3 separate regions of the Homo sapiens genome follow, and regions 1 and 2 are each linked to region 3. Evidence: promoter capture Hi-C in 16 types of primary human blood cells and fetal thymus (Javierre and others, 2016). All regions are on one chromosome and are shown on one strand. The core of a region is centred on a gene start or on the middle of the fragment in contact, and the rest is flanking DNA. Distances in the headings are between cores, read along the strand shown. Region 1 overlaps RETREG3 (reticulophagy regulator family member 3). Region 2 has its middle 18 kb from the start of AARSD1. Region 3 holds the start of COA3 (cytochrome c oxidase assembly factor 3).

Region 1 (4,477 bases), core at 1,808-4,307, 200 kb after region 3:
TCGCGCCACTGCACTCCAGCCTGGGCAACAAGAGCAAGACTCCGTCTCAAAAAAAAAAAAAAAAAAAAAGTTGGAACCTTCTTAGTTTATTTTTCGTTTATTTTTCTTTTCTTTTTTTTTTTTGAGAGAGTCTCGCTCTGTCTGTTGCCCAGGCTGGAGTGCAGTGGCGCGATCTCGGCTCACTGCAAGCTCCGCCTCTCAGGTTCACGCCATTCTCCTGCCTCAGCCTCCCGAGTAGCTGGGACTCCAGGCGCCCACCACCACTCCCGGCTAATTTTTTGTATTTTTTAGTAGAGCCAGGGTTTCACCGTGTTAGCCAGGATGGTCTCGATCTCCTGATCTCGTGATCTGCCTGCCTCAGCCTCCCAAAGTGTTGGGATTACAGGCTTGAGCCACCGTCTTAGTTTATTTTATTTTATTTGAGATGGAGTCTTCCTGTGTTGCCCAGGCTGGAGTGCAGTGGCACAATCTCAGCTCACTGCAACCTCCGCCTCCCGGATTCAAGCAGTTCTCCTGCCTCAGCCTCCTGAGTAGCTGGGATTACGGGCACCCGCCACCATGCCTAGCTAATTTTTGTATTTTTAGGTAGAGATGGGGTTTCACCATGTTGGCCAGGCTGGTCTTGAACTCCTGATGTCAAGTGATCTACCTGCTTCAGCCTCCCAAAGTGCTGGAATTACAGGTTTGAGCCACTGCGCCTGGCCCATTCATTGTTTTTTTTGAGAGAAGGTTTCACTCTGTCACCCAGGCTAGATTGCAGTGGTGTGATCATGGCTCACTGTACCCTGGAACTCCTGAGCTCAAGTGATCATTCCACCTCATGGCTGATGAGACCACAGGAGTTCATCACCACATCAGGCTAATTGTCTATGTATTATGTGAAAAAGTTTTAAAACCATAGTGTTTTTATATGTGAATTTTTTAATGAAGAGAATAGCCTGTCTTCACACTTTTTAGAGTACATATGTGGATAATGGATCATTTTAAAAATATTTTATTATGGAAAGCTTAAAACATGTGTAAGTAGGCAGAATAATATTGTGTGCCACCATGTACATAATATTATTTTTTTCAATTCCTGGCCAATTTTGTGTCTTCCATACCCCAGTTCTTTTCTACGTCTTCCTTATTGTTTGACACAAATTATTGATGTGTCATATCATTTAATCTAGGTATTTCAGTATATTTTTCTGAAAAAGAGACTTTAAGAAACATCTGCCATCATTATCACATGCAAAAAATTAATGATTCTAGTCAGTGTTCACATTTCCAATTTTCTTATAAATGTCATAAATGATACTTTTTTTTTTCTTTTCGAGACAGGGTCTTGCTCTGTCTCCCAAGCTGGAGTGCAGTGGCACAATCAGAGCTCACTGCAACCTCAACCTTCTGGCTCTAGCAATCCTCCCACCTCAGCTTCCCAAGTAAATGGGAGTACAAGCGTGCACCACCACACCTAGCTAATGTTTTTCTTTTCAGTAGAGATGAGGTCTTGCTGTGTTGCCTAAGCTGGTCTCAAACTCTTTGACTCAAGTGATCCTCCTGCCTCGGCCTCCCAAAGTATTGGGATTACAGGCTTTAGGTACCACATGTGGCCTGTTGTGTGTGGTTTTATTTGTTGTTTTTTTTTTAAACTCTTTTTTTCCCCACAAACCAATTTGTTAGTGTTTAGGTGGTTTTTTCTGTTTTGCTTTTTTGTTTTTTGAGATAGGGTCTCGCTCTGTCACCCAGGCTGGGGTACAGTGGCACGATAACGGCTCGCTGCAACCTCAGTTTCCCGGACTCAAGCTGTCATCCCACCTCAGCCTGTTGAGTAGCTGGGATTACAGGTGCCCGCCACTATGCCCAGCTAATTTTTTGTATTTTTAGTAGAGACGGGGTTTCGCCATGTTGGCCAGGCTTGTCTCGAACTCCTGACCTCAGGTGATCCACCTGCCTTGGCTTCCCAAAGTGCTGGGATTACAGACGTGAGCCACCATGCCTGTACTTTTTTTTCGATAAACATGAATTCATGTTAGTTGTATAATTTTTTTTTTTTTTTTTTGAGACGGAGCCTTACTCTGTCACCCAGGCTGGAATGCAATGGCACAATCTCAGCTCACTGCAACCTCTGCCTCCTGGGTTCAAGCGATTGTCCTGCCTCAGCCTCCTGAGTAGCTGAGATTACAGGCATACACCACCACGCCCGGCTAATTTTGTATTTTTAATAGACATGGAGTTTCTCCATGTTAGCTAGGCTGGTCTCAAACTCCCGATCTCAGGTTATCCACCCACCTAAGGCTCCCAAAGTGCTGGGATTATAGGCATGAGCCACTGTGCCCAGCCAACAACCCTATTTCAATTTTTCCAGCCTACCACCTAAAGGATACTGTGACTATATGTAAGATTAAAGAATAAAAGCAGTTTAACAGAAATAAGCCTCTAGAGCTGCCTCAGGCCATTGATCTTCTCTCTAAAGCCAGTGCATCATCCCAACAAACAAGCACATTTAACAAGGCCAAGGAGAAGAGCTCTAGGGTTTCTTGCTCCCCAGTGCTGCTGCTTCCCTTCCCCAGCAGCAGCACATGGCATCGCTGTTTTCTCCAGAGTACTTGAAAGGGCTCTCTAGGGAGGCTTGCCAGACTGTTGGCAATTTCCCCTTCCCAGAGCACGATTACTAACACAAATAGAAACTAGGGTAGGGAAAGGATATTAAGCTCTCCTAAGAAGGTTGGTTTTCCAGAGATGATGGCAATAAAAACATATCCCTTATAATAAACTGGTAAACATTAAAAAAAAAAGACTGTTTTCTAAGACCTGGACTATTTAAATTGCTTGTTACAGCCCTTACCTTCCATTCTTATAAGCTATGCTTCAATTCAATTCAACATACCTTTGAGTACCTGTTACATGCCAAGGCCTTGTGGTAAGAAGCCCAGTTACAGAAAAAAATAAGACACAAACTTTACTCTCAAGTAAATTCATGTGTGTTTGTGTTCACGATATAACGTGACAGGTAATAATAACAAACAGGAAGATATCTAAGCTGTGATTTGCAAGATAAATGTTAAGGAAATGGGGCCGAAAGGTGTGGTAAGAGAGAGAAGACATTCAGATAGGGAAAACACCAATCTAGTAAGATACTTAAGGAATTGCAAGTAGTTTGATAAAACTGAAATATAAAAAACAAAGGGAGGGAATCAGTGTGGGGAGAGAGGCAGGATCCAGATCATGAAGGCCCTTTTATGACGGGGTAATGGGATTTCATCCTGCAGATGAAGATAAGCCAATAGTTTCATAAAGGGTATATTTTCTGGGTCTTGAAGGCTAAAATTGTGAGCATCTTCCATAACAAGATTAATCCTTGTCCATAAATCAATTTTAGTCCCAGATTTATCTTTTTTTGGAACAAGCCACAATAATAACTTCAGAGGAAGAGGCCGGGTGCGGTGGCTCACGTCTGTAATCCCAGCACTTTGGGAGGCTGAGGCGGGTGGATCATGAGGTCAGGAGATCGAGACAATCCTAGCTAACATGGTAAAACCCCGTCTCTACTAAAAATACAAAAAATTAGCCGGGCGTGGTGGCGGGCGCCTGTAGTCCCAGCTACTCGGGAGGCTGAGGCAGGAGAATGGCATGAACCCGAGAGATGGAGCTTGCAGTGAGCCGAGATCGCACCACTGTACTCCAGCCTGGGCAACAGAGCGAGACTCCGTCTCAAAAAAAAAAAAAAAAAAAAAAACTTCAGAGGAAGAAGAGTTTTCTTTGTGGTATAAAATAACGTTTCTTGGCCAGGCGCGGTGGCTTATGCCTGTAATCCCAACATTTTGGGAGGCTGAGGCGAGCTGATCACTTGAGATCAGGGATTCGAGACCAGCCTGGCCAACAAGACGAAACTCCGTCTCTACTAAAAATACAAAAATTAGCTGGGCGCAGTGGCGCACACCTTAACCCCAGCTACTCAGGAGGCTGAGGCAGGAGTATTACTTGAACCCTGGAGGCGGAGGTTGAAGTGAGTGGAGATCTGTGCCACTGCACTCTAGCCTGGGTGACAGAGTGAGACTCTGTCTCAAAAAAAAAAAAAAAAAAAAAAAAAAAATATATATATATATATATATATATATATATATATATATACACACAAAATATATATATACACAAAAATATATATACGAAATATATATATATATATATACACACACACACACACACACACACACAAAATAGATTCTGGCTGGGCGCGGTGGCTCATTCCTGTAATCCCAGCACTTTGGGATGCCGAGGTGGGTGGATCACAAGGTCAGGAGATCGAGATCATCCTGGCTAACATGGTGCAACCCCGTCTCTACTAAAAATACAAAAATTAGCTGGGCGTAGCGGTGCATGCCTGTAATCCCAGCTACTCAGGAGGCTGAGGCAGGAGAATTGCTTGAACCTGGGAGGCAGAGGTTGCAGTGAGCCAAGATCACGCCACTGCACTCTAGCCTGGCGACAGAGC
Region 2 (4,745 bases), core at 1,695-4,194, 150 kb before region 3:
GTTCAAGCAATTCTCCTGCCTCAGCCTACCGAGTAGCTGGGATTACAGGCATGTGCCACCATGCCCGGCTAATTTTGTATTTTTAGTAGAGATGGGGTTTCACCATGTTGGCCAGGCTGGTCTCGAGCTCCTGACCTCAGGTAATCCGCCGGCCTCGGCCTCCCAAAGTGCTGGGATTACAAGTATGAGCCACCATGCCTGGCCTTTTTTTTTTTTTTTTTTCCAGATATAGTCTCACTCTGTTGCCCAGGCTGGAATGCAGTGGCACAATCATGGCTTACTGCAGTCTCAACCTCCTGGGAACAGGTGATCCTCCCACCTCAGCCCTCTGAGTAGCTGGGACTAGAGGTGTGCACCACCACACCTGGCTAATTTTTTGTATTTTTTCTAGAGACAGTGCTTTGCCGTGTTGCCCACACTAGTCTTGAACTCCTGGGCTCTAGCAATTTGTCCACTTTGGCCTCCCAGTGTTGGGATTACAGGCGTGAGCCACCATGCCCAGCCTGTTACCAATTTCTTATATATCCCTCTGGTAGTATTTTAAAAAATAGATGTACATAAATCTTCCCTCTTTTTAAACATAAATGGTAGCACATTGTATACTCTTCTGCATCTTGCTTTTCTCAGAGTGCCATGTTTTAGATAAAACCATAGTGTAACACTCATGCTATACAAAATGGGTCCATTAGTGGGAGAAAGGGAAATGTTTGCTTCACAGAAGCTTCCTTACTTTTGTAGAAGGACTCAGGCAGGATCTTGAACAGAGACCCATGTGAATTTGTCTCTGTGTGAGATCTCTGTCCCTCTCTGTGTTTGTTTCTTTAGGGTGTGCCTTAGTCTGATCTGACTGCTATAATAACAAAAACTAGGTAGCTTATAAACAACAAAAATGTATTTCTCACAGTGGAGGCTGGGAAGCTGGCAAATTCAGTGTCTGGTGTGAAGGTTCAAATACTGGTTCAGGAATAGCCATCTTTTTGCACCCTTGGTGCAAAGGGTAAGGGGTCTTTCTTGGGCCTTTTTTTTTTTTTTTTTTTTTTGAGACAGATGGAGTTTCACTCTTGTTGCTCAGGCTGAAGTGCAATGGTGCAATCTCAGCTCACTGCAACCTCCACCCCCTAGGTTCAAGTGATTCTCCTGCCTCAGCCTCCCGAGTAGCTGGGATTACAGGCGCCTGCCATCCCACCCAGCTAATATTTTGTATTTTTAGTAGAGATGGGGTTTCACCATGTTGGCCAGGCTGGTCTCGAACTCCTGACCTCAGGTGATCCGCCTGCCTCAGCCTCCCAAAGTGCTGGGATTACAGGCATGAGCCTCCGCACCCAGCCCTCTCGGGCCTCTTTTATAATGCACTAATTTCATTCACGAAGGCTCTGCCCCCGTGACCTAATCACCTGCTAAAGGGCCCACCTCCTGATACCACTTAGGGGGTTAGGATTTCAACATATGAATTTTTAGGGGTACACAAAGATTCAGAACACAGGTGCAACAACAAGAACAGTGACCTGGGAGGCCACTCTTGCTCACTACCACTCAGGTGGGTTCTTGTCACTTAGACCTAGAGCAACCATGTAATTTTAATATCCAGAGTTAGGCAAACCTCATGCCAGAACAACAGTCAGAAACCCAGACGGTGTTAAGGTAGCCTGGATGTCTGGTCCCCCTGCTGAGACTCCCTGAGCTTCAGTTTCTTGACCTGAAAATGGACACATGAACTGGGTGTCCTAAGAAGGAAGGAACCTTATGAAATAATTAAGAAAAGCCATAAACACTTGAGCAAATTATGTGAAAATGGTAATTGGTTGTATAAAGAAAGAGAAAATAAAGCAGCAGTTTTTGAACTGGTGATGTCATTCTTGCCTGTCACTGAGGCCCTAATCCAATGCCCCAGGGAGAGGGGGAGAAGAACAGAGTGTGTTCAGGGGAAGGGGTGGATTGTCTTTTATGAGGTTCACCAGGAAACAAAATGAGTTCATTTATTGGAGTAATCAAGTTTTAGGTACACACACAGGTTATATATTCTGGAATGTTACTATAACCCACTTTACGGCACAGAAATAGTAAGGGGGACTCCTTGGCTTCTAAGGAAATTTTTTTATGTGCGTACCCATAAATTGCTGAAGACAGCTGCTGTAGCTTCCACTAAGGTGATGCATGTAGGTACTAGAACAGATGTTAGTATGAAAGATGAAAGGTATCAGGTGGAAGAGACCCAGAGCAGTAGACAGACTGAATTCAGGGCCGGCGCTGTGGCTCATGCCTGTAATCCCAACACTTTGGGAGGCTGAGGCAGGTGGATCACCTGAGGTCGGGAGTTTGAGATCAGCCTGACCAACATGGGAAAAACCCCGCCTCTACTAAAAATACAAAATTAGCCAAGTGTGGTGGCGCATGCCTGCAATCCCAGCTACTCTGGAGGCTGAGGTAGGAGAATTGCTTGAACCCGGGAGGCGGAGGTTGCAGTGAGCCAAGATCGCGCCGTTGCACTCCATCCAGCCTAGGCAACAAGAGCAAAGCTCCGTCTCAAAAACAACAACAACAACAACAACAACAACAAACACACACAGACTGAATTCAGGAAGGCATTGTGCCAGTGTCCTGTGCTCCACCCTGCCTTGGAGTCCTGAGTGGAAACCAGTGAGTCGGCCAAGCTGTGCTAGAATGCCAGATCTGTCCCTGAATGAGAACTTAAATAAACTCTAGGGTTTATTTAAAACCTGGTACCAAAAGGAAAACAGACAGTGTTTGCCCTAATGAAAAAAATCTTTTTCAGAAAGCGTCTCTGTCTCCCATTCCTTTCCTGAATTTGATCCAAACTATGACTAGTGTTCTCAACAGAGGGCAAGTAGGGATGTTTGGGAACGAGTGATGGAGGAATTTCCTTCTTTCTTTAGAAAGGTCTGTATCTTCTGTGCAAAATACTACAGGCAGAGTGCCAGGCTTCAAACTAAGGAATAAGTAGGACTTAGTTAACTGACCTGGAGTTGTGTCTGGAGCAGAAGAGGCTCTCACAGGGACAGCTTTCTCTTTTGCTGAGCCATAAACTCCCTGCAGAAGTGACCTGTGGCAGAGGCCTGTTAGTAAATATCCCTGTTCATTTTAAAACACCAACCTCAAAGCCAAGAGTTTGGAGGAGGGAGAGGGGTTGAGGAGTTGTTGGTCAAAGGATACACACTTTTAGTTAGATAGGAGGAATAAGTTTTTTGATTTTTTTTTTTTTTTTTTGTCTGCTTGTGGGCTTGTTTGCTTTTTTTTTTTTTTTAGACAAGGTCTTACTCTGTTTCCTGGGCTGGAGTGCAATGGAAATCTTGTCTCATTGCAGCCTCGACTTTCCTGGGCTCAAGCGATCCTCCCACTTCAGCCTCCTGAGTAGCTGGGACTACAAGCACACACCACCGCACCTGGCTACTTTTTCTACTTTTGTGGAGACAGGGTCTTGCCATGTTGCCTAGGCTTGTCTTGAACTCTTGAGCTCAAGTGATCTTCCTGCCTTGGCCTCCCGAAGTTCTGGGATTACAGGCCTGAGCCACCTTGGTTGGCCAAGATAGGAGAAATAAATTTAAGATAACTGTAGTACTACACAATGACTATAGGTGTTTAATAACAATGTATTAGGCCAGGCGTGGTGGCTCATGCCTGTAATCCCAGCACTTTGGGAGGCTGAGGCAGATAGATCACTTGAGGTCAGGAGTTCGCGACCAGCCTGGCCAACATGGTGAAACTCCATCTCTACTAAAAATACAAAAATTAGCTGAGCATGGTGGCACACACCTGTAGTCCCAGCTACTCAGGAGGCTGAGGCAGGAGAATCACTTGAACTCCGGAGTCAGAGGTTGCTGAGCCGAGATTGCGCCGAGATTGTGCCACTGCCCTCTAGCCTAGGCAAAAGAGCAAGACTCAATCTCAAAAAAACAAAACCACTGAAAACTAATGTATTGTATTCTTGAAAATTGCAAAGAGAGTAGTTTTTTTTTTTTGAGACGGAGTTTCGCTCTTGTCGCCCAGGCTGGAGTGCAGTGGTATGATCTCAGCTCACGGCAACCTCCTTGTCCTGGGTTCAAGCGATTCTCCTGCCTCAGCCTCCCGAGTAGCTGGGATCACAGTCACCCACCACCATGCCCAGCTAATTTTTGTATTTTTAGTAAAGACAGGGTTTCACCATGTTCACCAGGCTGGTCTCGAACTCCTGACTTCAGGTGATCCACCCGCCTCAGCCTCCCAAAGTGCTGGGATTACAGGCGTGAGCCATTGTGCCTGGCCTACAATTTTATATGTATCAATTAAAATTAGTTAATTATTTAAGAGGCCAAGTGTTTCAGAAAAGAAGGGAGGAATCAACATTTTCTTCTGTGAAAATGCAAGTTCTCCCTTTCATAATACATAACTTGTGTTGTTGTTGACTTGTGCATATGATACATAATCACAGAATTCATTTGTTTATACGACAGATGTTTATTGAGAGTGTAGTGTGTGCCAAGCATTGTACCCAGCACTGGGGCCACACTGGTGAGTAATCTGGCCGTGGTCCCTGTTATGGCATTTACAGCTGTGGAGAAGGAAGATAAGAAAGAAACAATCCAATACATGTAAAAGTATAAATTCTGTTGAATCTGAGAGGAAGAGAGCAGGTAAACGAATAGAGAATAATGGGAGGAAGAGGGTAGGAGAGGGTAGTGGTGTTGTCAAAGGAGGCTGGGGGAGGATTTAGTTTTCTCATAATTTCCAGCATCCAGGCCATCTGAAAT
Region 3 (4,598 bases), core at 1,698-4,197:
AAGAACACTTCTTTTAGATGTTCTGCAAACACCTTAAACTCAGCAGATCCAAAACTAAAGCTATTATACACACACACACACACACACACACACACACATATATTATATATATATATATATATATATATATATATATATATTTTTTTTTTTTTTTTGAGACAAGGTCTCACTCTGTTACCCAGGCTGGAATGCAATGGCGTGATCTTGGCTCACTGCAACCTCTGCCTCCCGGGTTCCAGCCATTCTCCTGCCTCAGCCTCCCAAGTAGCTGGGATTACAGGTACCTGCCACCATGCCTGGCTAATTTTTGTATTTTTAGTAGAGATGGGGTTTCACCATGTTGGCCAGGCTCCAAAGCCATTATTATCTTTCCCAAACAAAAGTCACTTTTCCTCCTGCTTTATTTATGTAGTGTGTCTGTGTTTTTTGTGTTGTTTTTTTTTGTTGTTGTTTTTTTTTTTTTTGGGAGACAGAGTCTTGCTCTGTGGCCTAGGCTGGAGCGCAGTGGCACAATCTTGGCTCACTGCAACCTCCGCCTCCCAGGTTCAAGCCATTCCCCTGCCTCGGCCTCCCGAGTAGCTGGGACTACAGGTGCCTGCCACCATGCCCAGCTAATTTTTGTGTTTTTAATAGAGACAGGGTTTCACTATGTTGGCCAGGCTGGTCTCGAACCCCTGACCTCGTGATCCACCCGCCTCAGCCTCTCAAAGTGTTGGGAATACAGGCGTGAGCCACCGTGCCCGGCCGTGTCTGTGTGTTTCTTTTAATGACCACTATACTTCCAGTCTTCCAGGCTCAACCGTTTAGCATAGTCACGTTTTCCTCCTTCACTTCCTAAATTTATCCACAGCAGAACCCTAGACTTTGCCTCTAGAATGTTTTTAATCCACCCTCCCTTGTTATTCCCTCTGCCCTATCACCTAGCCTACTGACATTGACTCTACCTGTCTGCCTACATCCCATCTCCCTCTGGTTTAATCCATCCTTTACCTCCTTTACATCACTGCCAAAATAATGTTTACTAAGGCAGGGTTACCATCGTATCCCTTATTTTAAAACCTTCACTCCCTTATTTAAAAACCTTCAATGTCTTCTTGGTTTCCTACCAAACCAAGGATAAACTCTTCCCCTTGGCATTCAAACTTCCACATGGAATGTCTCCAAACTACCTTTCCAGTATTAATTTCAACTATTCTTCCACATGCACTGGCCAACATGGACTACACTGTACCCACATGCACCCTAAGCACCCCATTTCCATAGCTTTACTCATGCTACCTCTTTTTGGTAGAAACACTGTCTCCTTCCTCCCCCTTCACCAACCCAATGTCCTCCTTCCTTCAAGGTCTGCCTGAAATGTCCCGATGCCTGGGCCATCCCCTGAATTCTTCCTATTACCCCATCGCTCCTCTCAACCCCCATAAACGCTTGTTTTATTTCTCTCTGACGTCTCTTATCTAACCATAGTACCTAGTCATTGCATATTTGTTCTAATATCTCCCCCAAATTGCACATGGTTTGAAGGCAAGACCTCTATCTCTATTTCATCTTTCTTTTCTCTTTTTTTTTTTTTTTTTTTTTAGACAGAGTCTCGCTCTGTCACCCGTCACTCAGGCTGGAGTGTAGTGGCGCCATCTCAGCTCACTGCAAGCTCCGCCTCCCGGGTTCATGCCATTCTCCTCCCTCAGCCTCCGGAGTAGCTGGGACTACAGGCGCCCGCCACCACACCCGGCTTTTTTTTGTATTTTTAGTAGAGACGGGGTTTCACCATGTTAGCCAGGATGGTCTCGATCTCCTGACCTCGTGATCTGCCCGCCTCAGCCTCCCAAAATGCTGGGATTACAGGCGTGAGCCACCGCGCCCAGCCTTTTTTTTTTTTTTTTTTTTTTTTTTTTTTTGAGACGGAGTTTCATTCTTGTCGTCTAGGCTGAAGTGCAATGGCACGATTTCGGCTCACTGCAACTTCCGCCTCCTGGGTTCAAACAGTTCTCCTGTCTCAACCTCCCGAGTAGCTGGGATTAGAGGTGCGCGCCACCAGTCCTGGCTAATTTTTGTACTTTTAGTAGAGACAGGATTTCACCATGTTGGTCAGGCTGGTCTCGAACTCCTGACCTCAGGTGAACCTCCCACCTCAGCCTCCCAAAGTGCTGGGATTACAGGTGTAAGCCACCATGCCTGGCCCTCTATTTCATCTTTCTAGCCAAGCGGTGCCACTCAAGTATTCCATACATGTCGAAGAAATCAAGGGGAGGGCACTGTTGTGACTTATCCATCACTATATCCCCAGCACCCCACAGAGAGGTGTTAGCAAACATTCTCTGAATGAATAAAATCAACGGAATCTCAAGGTCGGTGCCTGAAAGACACAAGCCCCAGTCTCCCAAGAACCCAGCACCCCGGCCCTGCAGCCGCACCCACGATCTGGGGCTCCCTGAAGCGGCCCAGCCGCCCCGAAGCCTCCCTCACTGCTTGCTCATTCTGCTGGGCCAAGTGAAGCAGGGCGTCTTCAATCGTCTCTGTGGCGACAACTCCAAACTGAAAGTCAACGAGGGAGGCCGATCGTGGCCTCATGGGTCCGTCCATATTCACGAGCCTCTTGGGGCACCTGGACGGGTTCACTGGATCCACATACCGACCCCCTTAGCTCCTCTCCAGTCTTCTGCCACACCCTGGATTCCTCGTCCCCTTCCAATGAGTGTGTCGTCGCCTCAAGTCTGAGGAAAACCCAATTACCACCACAGCCTCGAACCCTCCACAGCTTTTTCCCGCCCCAACGGCCACGGACTCCTCAGCCAATCAGAAAGCACGTCCGCTTCTCACCTCCCGCGTCCATCCCCTGTGCCCGGGAACCGCGGCTCTGCCCCGCAAAGGGCACGCGGACTACAACTCCCAGAGTCCACTGCAGCGGCCAAGGGCTACTGTTCCCAGCGAGGCCCGCGCGGCGGCACCGCGAAGGGAGGAGTGGCAACATGGCGTCTTCGGGAGCTGGTGACCCTCTGGATTCTAAGCGTGGAGAGGCCCCGTTCGCTCAGCGTATCGACCCGACTCGGGAGAAGCTGACACCCGAGCAACTGCATTCCATGCGGCAGGCGGAGCTTGCCCAGTGGCAGAAGGTCCTACCACGGCGGCGAACCCGGAACATCGTGACCGGCCTAGGCATCGGGGCCCTGGTGTTGGCTATTTGTATCCGTCCGTGTTGTAGACTCAAGGGGACCGCATATAGGGGCAGGGGAACAGAGTGTGCAAGAGGGCTGAACCACCCGTTTAATTTTGGGGTAAAATGGGTAGTACTTTCCTTTGTTATTCCTAAGGTACTCTTTTAATTTGATTTATTAATAATAACGGAATTGGGGTTCAGGGTTTAGAAACAGCAGCGGCGGGAAGCCGGAATCACTGATTTGGGAGAGTAACAAGAGTGGTAGAGCAAATCTAGGAAAGGGGAATGTGCATATTCTGTGTGGTTTCCTGAACCTACCTCCCCAGATGGTTACACCTTCTACTCGATTTCCCAGGAGCGTTTCCTAGATGAGCTAGAAGACGAGGCCAAAGCTGCCCGAGCCCGAGCTCTGGCAAGGGCGTCAGGGTCCTAATCTGGATGGGTATTGATCATGTCCAACCTGCTGGAGCCCCTTCACATGGTGGATGATGCCCCATGACCCTGTAGAAATTGAATCCTGCTCACAACATTGTTGGCCTTCTTACTAACCTTGGACCGTGATTGAGCCCAAGAAACCAGGGACTTACGCATTTGGCCAATGTCAAAAGAACAGAACTTTGCCCACTGCACACTTGCTGTGTACAATGACTGAGCCCTTTCTTGTAGTTTGTTTCCTTGTTTGAGAGGTGTGCATGCGACCGTGGCTTTTCCCAAAGTTTCTGACTTTGTGGTTTACCCCCTTCACCTTCCAGGGACGCAGTTGTTACGAGGTTAGACGTGGCAGCTCTGTGCAGTGTTTGAGCCTACAGTGGGATACATAGGGTCAAATTGAGAATAATAAACTGAGTCATTCTCCTGGAGTCAAGTGAGTATGGAGGCTGAGAGGCAGCATATGGCACTTCATGCTGGAAAGCTTCACAAGCAGTAGCTGCAGTGGTGGCATTGCCCCAGGGAGCTGTAAATGTTTAACTAGAATTACTTTTTCCATGAGATCTTTCCACCTGATTTAAGGGAGAGATCACTGGGCAGTTTGAGACTGAACCCACGTCTTAGGGGAAGGAAGGTCACTCTTCTGTCCTCTACCCACAAGAACATACTGTAACTCTACTGCTTTTCCCATCCCCAGAGAGAGGGAGGGAGAGAGAGGTGGATGAAGGGTGAAAGACAAGCAGTCTTCATTCTTTTAACTTTCCCTGGTACCTGCCTATACAGGTCTAGGGTGGGGTCTGGAGGGGATCCTAACTTAGTCAAGTGGATCACTGACCTTGCAGTTTCCTCATTAACTGATGGCAGGAAGCCAGAGGGCTGGGCAGCTTCCACCCCTGCCTCCCATTGTGAAAAGAAAGTCCCTTTTAAATCCTCCCCTGCCTCACCCCACAAGTCTTTGCTCCCCCAATTCCTAAGGCATGGCATATGGATTCACGGCGTTCTTGTTTCCAGC

Evidence for each region. Contacts are between HindIII fragments. The CHiCAGO score rates a contact against its expected background, and 5 or more counts as called.
Region 1: a contact is called between a fragment that was not itself captured here and the fragment with the promoter of COA3 in region 3, in 4 of 17 cell types (endothelial precursors, M2 macrophages, megakaryocytes and 1 more). The highest score is 9.0, in endothelial precursors.
Region 2: a contact is called between a fragment that was not itself captured here and the fragment with the promoter of COA3 in region 3, in 4 of 17 cell types (M2 macrophages, M1 macrophages, M0 macrophages and 1 more). The highest score is 7.3, in M2 macrophages.

The regions. Positions count from the first base shown.
Region 1 is chr17:42,597,221-42,601,697 of GRCh38, reverse strand. The region is part of intron 1 of RETREG3 (reticulophagy regulator family member 3); the gene reads left to right. Among named protein-coding and RNA genes, the nearest start is that of RETREG3, 9.9 kb to the left of the region's middle. The HindIII fragment of the contact is 4,096 bases long and covers 1,010-4,477 here.
Region 2 is chr17:42,944,158-42,948,902 of GRCh38, reverse strand. No RefSeq gene overlaps it. Among named protein-coding and RNA genes, the nearest start is that of AARSD1, 18 kb to the left of the region's middle. The HindIII fragment of the contact is 4,442 bases long and covers 724-4,745 here.
Region 3 is chr17:42,797,053-42,801,650 of GRCh38, reverse strand. It overlaps COA3 (cytochrome c oxidase assembly factor 3), which reads left to right and starts at 2,947. Exons shown (of 2, transcript NM_001040431.3): 1 at 2,947-3,183; 2 at 3,484-4,026. The coding sequence starts at 2,970. The coding sequence ends at 3,590. CNTD1 (cyclin N-terminal domain containing 1) reads right to left here and starts at 2,790. Exons shown (of 7, transcript NM_173478.3): 1 at 2,415-2,790. The coding sequence starts at 2,583. It overlaps WNK4 (WNK lysine deficient protein kinase 4), which reads right to left. Exons shown (of 19, transcript NM_032387.5): 19 at 4,585-4,598. RefSeq lists enhancers at 2,935-2,984, 3,005-3,054, 3,195-3,264. The HindIII fragment of the contact is 5,104 bases long and covers 1-4,072 here.